2 separate regions of the Homo sapiens genome follow, and region 2 is linked to region 1. The links are contacts of gene promoters, found by promoter capture Hi-C in human tissues and cell types (Jung and others, 2019). All regions are on one chromosome and are shown on one strand. The core of a region is centred on a gene start or on the middle of the fragment in contact, and the rest is flanking DNA. Distances in the headings are between cores, read along the strand shown.

Region 1 (3,554 bases), core at 463-2,962:
CTGTAGCCAAACAACCACCATGGTTAACTCAGGTGTCCAGCAAGTACACTGTGACTGATGCCCACGCCACCCCTTCTAATGGCCCCTCAATGCAAGCTTCATTCACAAGTTTCCCAGATGCCACGTTCAACTTCTCACAATTTTGATCCTGTTGCTACTGACATTCACCCTCCCTAACCCTGCAAACCCACACCTTCCAGACACGGACGTAGCCATCTGTTCCTCCAGTGGCAAGCAGGGTATTATCGTGGTTGAAGCACACAACTTTCTGCAGTGGATCGGAGCTAAAGTCTGTCTGCACCGCCTGCAAATTCTCTACCCTGAGTTCTAGCCCCTCGTGCTGGGTTTCCGCTCCACATTTCTTCTCTGCTGGGGCTGCTCCCTTCCTTTGTCGAGGCCCCTGCTCCTTGGAACCTGTAACACAAACACTTGGCCAGGTTCCAGGCTTCTACAGTAAGGAGTACTGGCCCCTCTCTCCATGGCAGGTGCCCATACAACTTCTAGCTTGCTACCAAAACCCTACTTCCAGACCCACTTCTTTAGAGACACCAAGAGTGACCTTACTCGTTCAACCCTTTCCCCAAGGGGGTAGAGAGGGAGCTCCTCACCGGCCTTCTCTGCCTTGTTGCCCTGCTGTTGATGTGCCTGGAAGCGCAGGAGCTGACAGTGGGCATCCTGCCCTGCAGCAAGGATGTCACCAGCCAGTGCCAAGTTCATGGTGGCCCGTGTCTCTGTGTCATGGGAGTGCAGCAAGGAGGCACTCAAGCGCCCATTAATCAGCTCTAGCTGCAGAAAGTGCTGTGGGAGGGGGAACCCGGATGAGCAAGTTCAGGGGTGCCCAGAGAGCACGTTTAGGGAAGAGTCTGATGTCTTACCCCTTTGCTTTCTGCACGTTCTAGTTCACAAGGGTTTCTCGAGTCTTTTTTCTCTCATTTGGGCCTCACAAATCTACACAGTGAGCAGGACTGGGATTATTACCTCTATTTTACAGAACAGGGTGAAGCTCAGGAGAGGGAAGGAACTTAGCCTAAACCCAAATGCACCACTCTCGCCGCTGCTAGAGGGCAGGCAAGACCTCCCGGAAAAGGCCAGTATAAGACCCCTGGAGCTGCTCTGAGGCGGAGCTGAAGCGTTCCTGGCGACTCTGCAGCTGTGTGCAGTTTTCACTTTACCTTAAAAGCCTCTCCTCCGCCCGCTGAGTTCTCGACTGAAATTCGCCCCTGGGCGTCAGGCAAGCGGGTCTTCCCAACAGAAGTGGGCAGGGCCCGAAGCTGGAGTGTGGCCCGCCCCGCGACCCCCCGGCCACCCTGGAATCGCCGCCAGCCCGCAGCAAGACCCAGCCCCAGTGGCCCTGCGCTCTCACCACGCCATTCTTTATGCCTGTCTTGGCGGCGCCTCCTCCGCCCGCAGCGATGAGCAGCCCAGTGCTGGGGTCGACCTGAAGCGCGTACAACGGGAACGGAGCCCGGTACAGCTCTGGCGCCCGGCGCCGGCCCATCCCGCCCGGCGCGCGTTCACTGCCCGCACCGCGGCACCCAGGACATGCCGCGCCGGGCCTTCGACTACTGCCCCGGCGGCTGGTGAACTCGGCCCCGTCGCCGCCGGGAGCACTCCCTACCCCTCTCACACCGGGGAGTTGCCAAAACCCTGACCATCAGCAGGAAGCCGAGCCTCAGCTCGGCTCCGTCCAAGTCGGTCTCGCAGACGCGCACTGCGCATGCGCACCTGTCTCGCGGCTCCCTCCGCGCAGGCGCAGGAGCGCCGACACGCGTCAGCACTAGCCGGCCGCGGGGCCGCGTTTCCCGGGGCGGGGCTTCGGTTCTCCACCCCTGGCGCGGAGGCAGAGTCGCCCAGCACCGACTTCGCCATTTTTGTGCGGGGCGCGGGGCGCGGGCGGAGGAGGTGGAGCCAATGGAGGTTGATGAAGGTCAACCTTTAATAAAGAAATCCGACTCGCGCCTGTAATCCCAGCACTTTGTGAGTCCTAGGCGGGCGGATCAGGAGTTCGAGACCAGCCTGACCAACATGGAGAAACCCCGTCTCTACCAAAAATACAAAGGGCGTGGTGGCGTGCGCCTGTAATCCCAGCTACTCGGGAGCCTGAGGCAGGAGAATCACTTGAACCTGGGAAGTAGAGGTTGCAGTGAGCCGAGATCGCGCCATTGCCATTGCTCTTCAGCCTGGGCAACAAGCAACAAGAGTGAAACTCCGTCTCAAAAAAAAAAAAATCCTCTGCCAGGCACGGTGGTTCATGCCTGTAATCCTCCTGTAATCCCAACACTTTCGGAAAGTCCGAGAGAGGAGGATGGCTTGAGCCCAGGCTTTCGAGACAGCCTGGGCAACATGGGGATCCGTCCCTACGAAATATTTAAAAATTAGCCAAACATCGTGGCACCTGTGGGCCCAGGTGCCCAGGAGGCTCAGGCGGGAGGATCACTTGAGACTGGGAGGTCGAGGCTGCGCTGGACCACCAGTGATGTCACCACTGCACTCCAGCCCCTGGGCAACAGAGCTAGACCCTGTCTCTCACACACATAAAATCCTCAAATAAGGACTGTTCCCATCTGAGGAGTGATATGCCAACTCCTAGGAGCACAGGCCTTTGCATCTTACCTCAGAGAGGAAGTGATTTGCCCGAGGGCACACACCAGAAACCACCGGAGTCTCTTGCTTCTTAACGGAGGCAGCATGAACTTAAAAATAAACCTGACTTCAAATGCTGAATCCATTGCTTCCTCGTATGAGGACACGTCTGTCATCCTTAACGCCTATCGCCCACTTTTGGCAGGGGTGGTGTCTGCCATTCCCTTTCTCAAGGCTTCACACTCCTGGGCTGGTGGCTTGGTGGGTGGCCAGCTGCTTTGCTGGCCTCAGAGGGGGCAGTTTGGCTCCCGGGCAGGTATCTTCTGCGCCTGACACTCCATTCTCCCTCGGGTTTCTGATCTGATGAGGACCTTTGTGCACTCCTGAGAGCGAGCACAAGGGATGTCCTTCCCTGCAAAGAGACGCCCTCTCCTGCATTCTCATTAACCTAAGGTGCACCCAGAGGAATAGCGCAGTGGCTTCATCTTTGGGGATGCCAATATCTGTCCCACAGAGTTGAATTAGATGTGTGAAGGGCCTGGCCAAGCTCTCTGCATATCTCAAGTCCCCAGGCCTTGTGGGTCCCTTGTCCTCCTTGGATACATGGCACCTGCTCTTTCTGGCCTCTCCGTTTCCTTTGACACCACCCTCCAGGGTCTTTTTTATTTTTTGAGACGGAGTCTCGCTCTGTTGCCCAGTCTGGAGTGCAGTGGCCTGATCTCAGCTCACTGCACCCTCCACCTCCCAGGTTGAAGTGATTCTCCTGCCTCAGCCTCCTGAGTAGCTGGAACTACAGGCACCCGCCACCACACCCAGCTAATTTTTGTATTTTTAGTAGAGATGGAGTTTCACCATGTTGGCCAGGCTGGTCTCGTAACTCCTGACCTTAAATGATATGCCCACCTTGGCCTCCCAAAGTGCTGGGATTATAGGCATGAGCAACCACACCATGCCCTCTTTTTTTTTTTTTT
Region 2 (3,554 bases), core at 366-2,865, 130 kb before region 1:
CACATAGCTCAATGTGCCTGTTTATTTCTTAGGAAATACACCACAGGGCTACTATTTAGGTAGTGCAATTAAAGTTTACTTTCTGAATTCTCTATTTCCCCTATCTTTAGCAGAAAACTTGGGAAAGCCTAAGTCATTTTCCACTTCTTAGCCCCTTCCTCCTCCCCCTCATTTTCTAGGCAAAAATATGATAAGAGAGTAGCTTGGATAATGTCTAGCTTTGTTTTGGTTCTCTGGTGATGTGAATTTTTCCCATTGTTACCAAACTCCCACTTTTTCCACGTCGAAATACATTTCATGATAGCTGGAGTATGGCAACAGCACTCCTGAGTTACAGGCATGCGCCACCATGCCCAGCTAATTTCTATTTTTGTAAAGATAGGGTCTCACTATGTTGCCTAGGCTAAAACCTTCTGATAAGGATATTTTCTAGTATCTCATGTTTAGAGCAAATTACTAGAATATCAAGGATCTAGTAAAAAAAAAAAAAAAAAAGTAAATGCCATGGATATGTCTGGGATCAGTACAGATTTATCCCAGGATACTAGATCTTTAGTAGAAGGCATGAATGGTGAGAATTCCTCAGCAGGATTTCCGGATGTTTGTTAGACATGAGCACACAGATGACTTGTGGGTTCTCAAACTCGACAGCCCAAAACAGTTCACAGAAGAGTAAATATATATGGGTAATAAACATAGAAATATGTTCTCCCTCACTAGTAATCAAAGAAACATTATTTTAAAGATAAAAAAATACTTCTCTTTCAATCAACACACTTTTTAAAATAATAACAATGTTGGTGTTGAAATGAGCACTCATAAACTTCTGGGGAAAAAATGAAAGGTACAGCCTTTATGGAAGCTGTTAGTCCTTAAAAAATATATCATGCCCTTTGACCCAGTAATTCCCTGCCCAAGGAAGTAGTCACAGATTTAGACAAAAATTGAATGTTCAAATATATTAATTCCAGGACTATCAAAAATCAAAATGCCCAGCAACTAAAGCTAATGTAAGGATAGCATGGAATATTATGCCCCATGGAAGATGATGCTTCCTAATATCCTTAATTATTCTTTGAAGTGTCCACAGCATAATCTTAAGTGAGCTCGTGGTCTTCACTGCACTCTCAAACCTGCTCTTCCTGCAGTTTTCTCCATCCTTCCAGTGGCTTGGGCAAGAAACTTTGGGGTCATCTTTGACCTCTCTCACATCTCATAGTGCTCTGCAGCAAATCCTCAGTCCCACATTTTGTAAGATTCTCCCTACTTTCCAGGCCTTCTGCAAAGCATGAACTGCAAAGGCTCGAGGAGGAAAGAAAGCAACACTGAACTCCCTTGAGTGGTTAGGGTTTTGGTTCCTAAATTAAGGCACAGTTTTCCTTTTCCTTGAATTAATTATCTAACTCTTCCTCCTAGGGCAGAATCAATGGGCCAAATGGCCTCATTGAGAACATGACATCCAAAGGGAGAGTGGCAGGAGTCAAAGTATTATTATAATGAATAGAAATAGGTGAGGGAGAAAGTAATGGGATTTCATTGGTGGCAACCCTACTTGCTGAGAATTGTTGTATATTTTCAGTGAGCAACAAATATTGTACAGCATGGAGGACCATCAAATTTAAAAGAGACCTTAAAACCAAGAGTGTGTCGGCCGGGCGCGGTGGCTCACGCCTGTAATCCCAGCACTTTGGGAGGCCGAGGTGGGCGGATCACGAGGTCAGGAGATCGAGATCATCCTTGCTAACACGGTGAAACCCCGTCTCTACTAAAAATACAAAAAATTAGCCGGGCACAGTGGCGGGCGCCTGTAGTCCCAGCTACTCGGGAGGCTGAGGCAGGAGAATGGCGTGAACCCGGGAGGCGTAGCTGGCACTGAGCCAAGATTGCACCACTGCACTCTAGCCTGGGTGACAGAGCGAGACCCCGTCTCAAAAATAAAAACAAAAACAAAAACAAAAAAAAAACAAGTGTGTGGAAGCCATTAGCTTAGCTGCTGTGGCTATTAGACAAGTAGGCTTTGCCATTGGGTGAAGAGAGACTTAGTAGACTATTGATGTCTGATAATTCCCATTATTGGGGAGGAAATGTAATTTCTTCTTAACCTTCATAAGTTCATAGTTGGGACAGACCCCTGTAACAAAAGACAGATCAGCAAAAGAAAAACAAGCAAAGTTTTTTTATTTTGTTTTTCTCTTCAGATACAGGGTCTCACTCTGTCACTAAGGCTGGGGTGCCGTGGCATGATCACAGCTCATTGAAGCCTTGAACTCCTGGGCTCAAGCAATTCTTCCTCCTCAGCCTCCCAAGTAGCTGGGACTACAGGCATGTGCCACCACGTCCCACTATTTTTTTTAAAATTTTTTGTAGAGACGGGGTCATGCTATGTTGCCCAGGCTGGTCTTGAACTCCTGACCTCAAGCAGTCCTCCCGCCCCAGACTCCCAAACCACTGAGATTATAGGCATGAGCCACCATGCCTGGCCAAGCAAGTTTATTAATGTGTGGAGGGCACAGAATGCAGGAGAAACCCCAATGAAAGGCAACTTCAAGGCAGTGGCGTCAAACTCTGGCTTATATGCCATCTTCAGAAAAGAACAATACATTTGTAGAGAAATAACAGGACAGAAGAAAGCAATTTTAGGCTTCCAAAAGGGGGAAACTGTGGGAAGTTAGATACATGGGAAGAAACCAATGGTGTAAGGTTTGTTTACAGATTCCTCTGGTGCTGTGTCTGGGCTGATAAGAACTATCTCCAGTAAAGAAGAATTTATATCCTGTCTTTAGGCAGAAAAGCAGGAGAATAGAGCTCATCCTCTATTTGCTGCTCTTTAATTACTTTTAGCTCAAAAATAAGTCAAATAGGCATATTTTGGGGTGACATATTCTGGTTTTCCTTTACCTTGAAGTTGAGTCATAACACCAAAGGTTCGTCTATATCTTGCATGTACAAATAGGTAGAAAGGTTTATGCTAATTAGGTGAGCCCAGATTGGCAGGTTGTTGAAGGGCTAATTTAACTCACAAAAGGCCTTTTCGTGTTTAGAATCCCAAGGAAGAAGTTTGGACTTGGTTAAGTTATCCTGTGATTATTTTAGAAAAGTTGTAAACCTGCTATCCTCATTAGCCCGGATTCTTCTTAATTGTGTCTTAGAAGTAATTGGGAAAGTTTTGAATGGCCTGTGGTCTGTCAGAAGTAAAGGATTTACTGCCCTGGGATAAATTATGTTCTGCATAACGAACTTTATTTTGACAATATTTTAGTTTCCCTTTGAAAACCTTATGCCCTTTCTGAAAGAAAACAGTAGATAGCTGGAACAGTCTTGGAGCTTATCTTTAGAACACAGCAAAAGGTCATCCACATGTCAAACAACAGTAGAATAACAGATATTTAAGGTCCTTGAGGTTGTCATTCAGGACTTGTGAAAAGTACAGAGGGGGCCCCTGTTAATCTTTGGGGCATCACAGTCCAAGTATACTGTTAATGTTCCCAGGAGAAGGCAAACAAATATTGCCTATTTTGATCTAAAGGAATACTAAAAAAAGTAAAATACATATC

What was found. Contacts are between HindIII fragments. The study calls those that stand out against the background at their distance.
Region 2: a fragment that was not itself captured here is called in contact with the fragment with the promoter of PREB in region 1 in 1 of the 25 tissues and cell types used here (liver).

The regions. Positions count from the first base shown.
Region 1 is chr2:27,132,924-27,136,477 of GRCh38, forward strand. It overlaps PREB (prolactin regulatory element binding), which reads right to left and starts at 1,713. Exons shown (of 9, transcript NM_013388.6): 1 at 1,364-1,713; 2 at 609-798; 3 at 194-414. The coding sequence starts at 1,498. RefSeq lists a silencer at 1,432-1,531 and enhancers at 1,470-2,126, 1,602-1,651. The HindIII fragment of the contact is 4,836 bases long and covers 1-2,865 here.
Region 2 is chr2:27,004,252-27,007,805 of GRCh38, forward strand. The region is part of intron 1 of MAPRE3 (microtubule associated protein RP/EB family member 3); the gene reads left to right. All of the region lies in intron 1 of MAPRE3-AS1 (MAPRE3 antisense RNA 1), which reads right to left. Among named protein-coding and RNA genes, the nearest start is that of MAPRE3-AS1, 8.6 kb to the right of the region's middle. The HindIII fragment of the contact is 6,287 bases long and covers 1-3,554 here.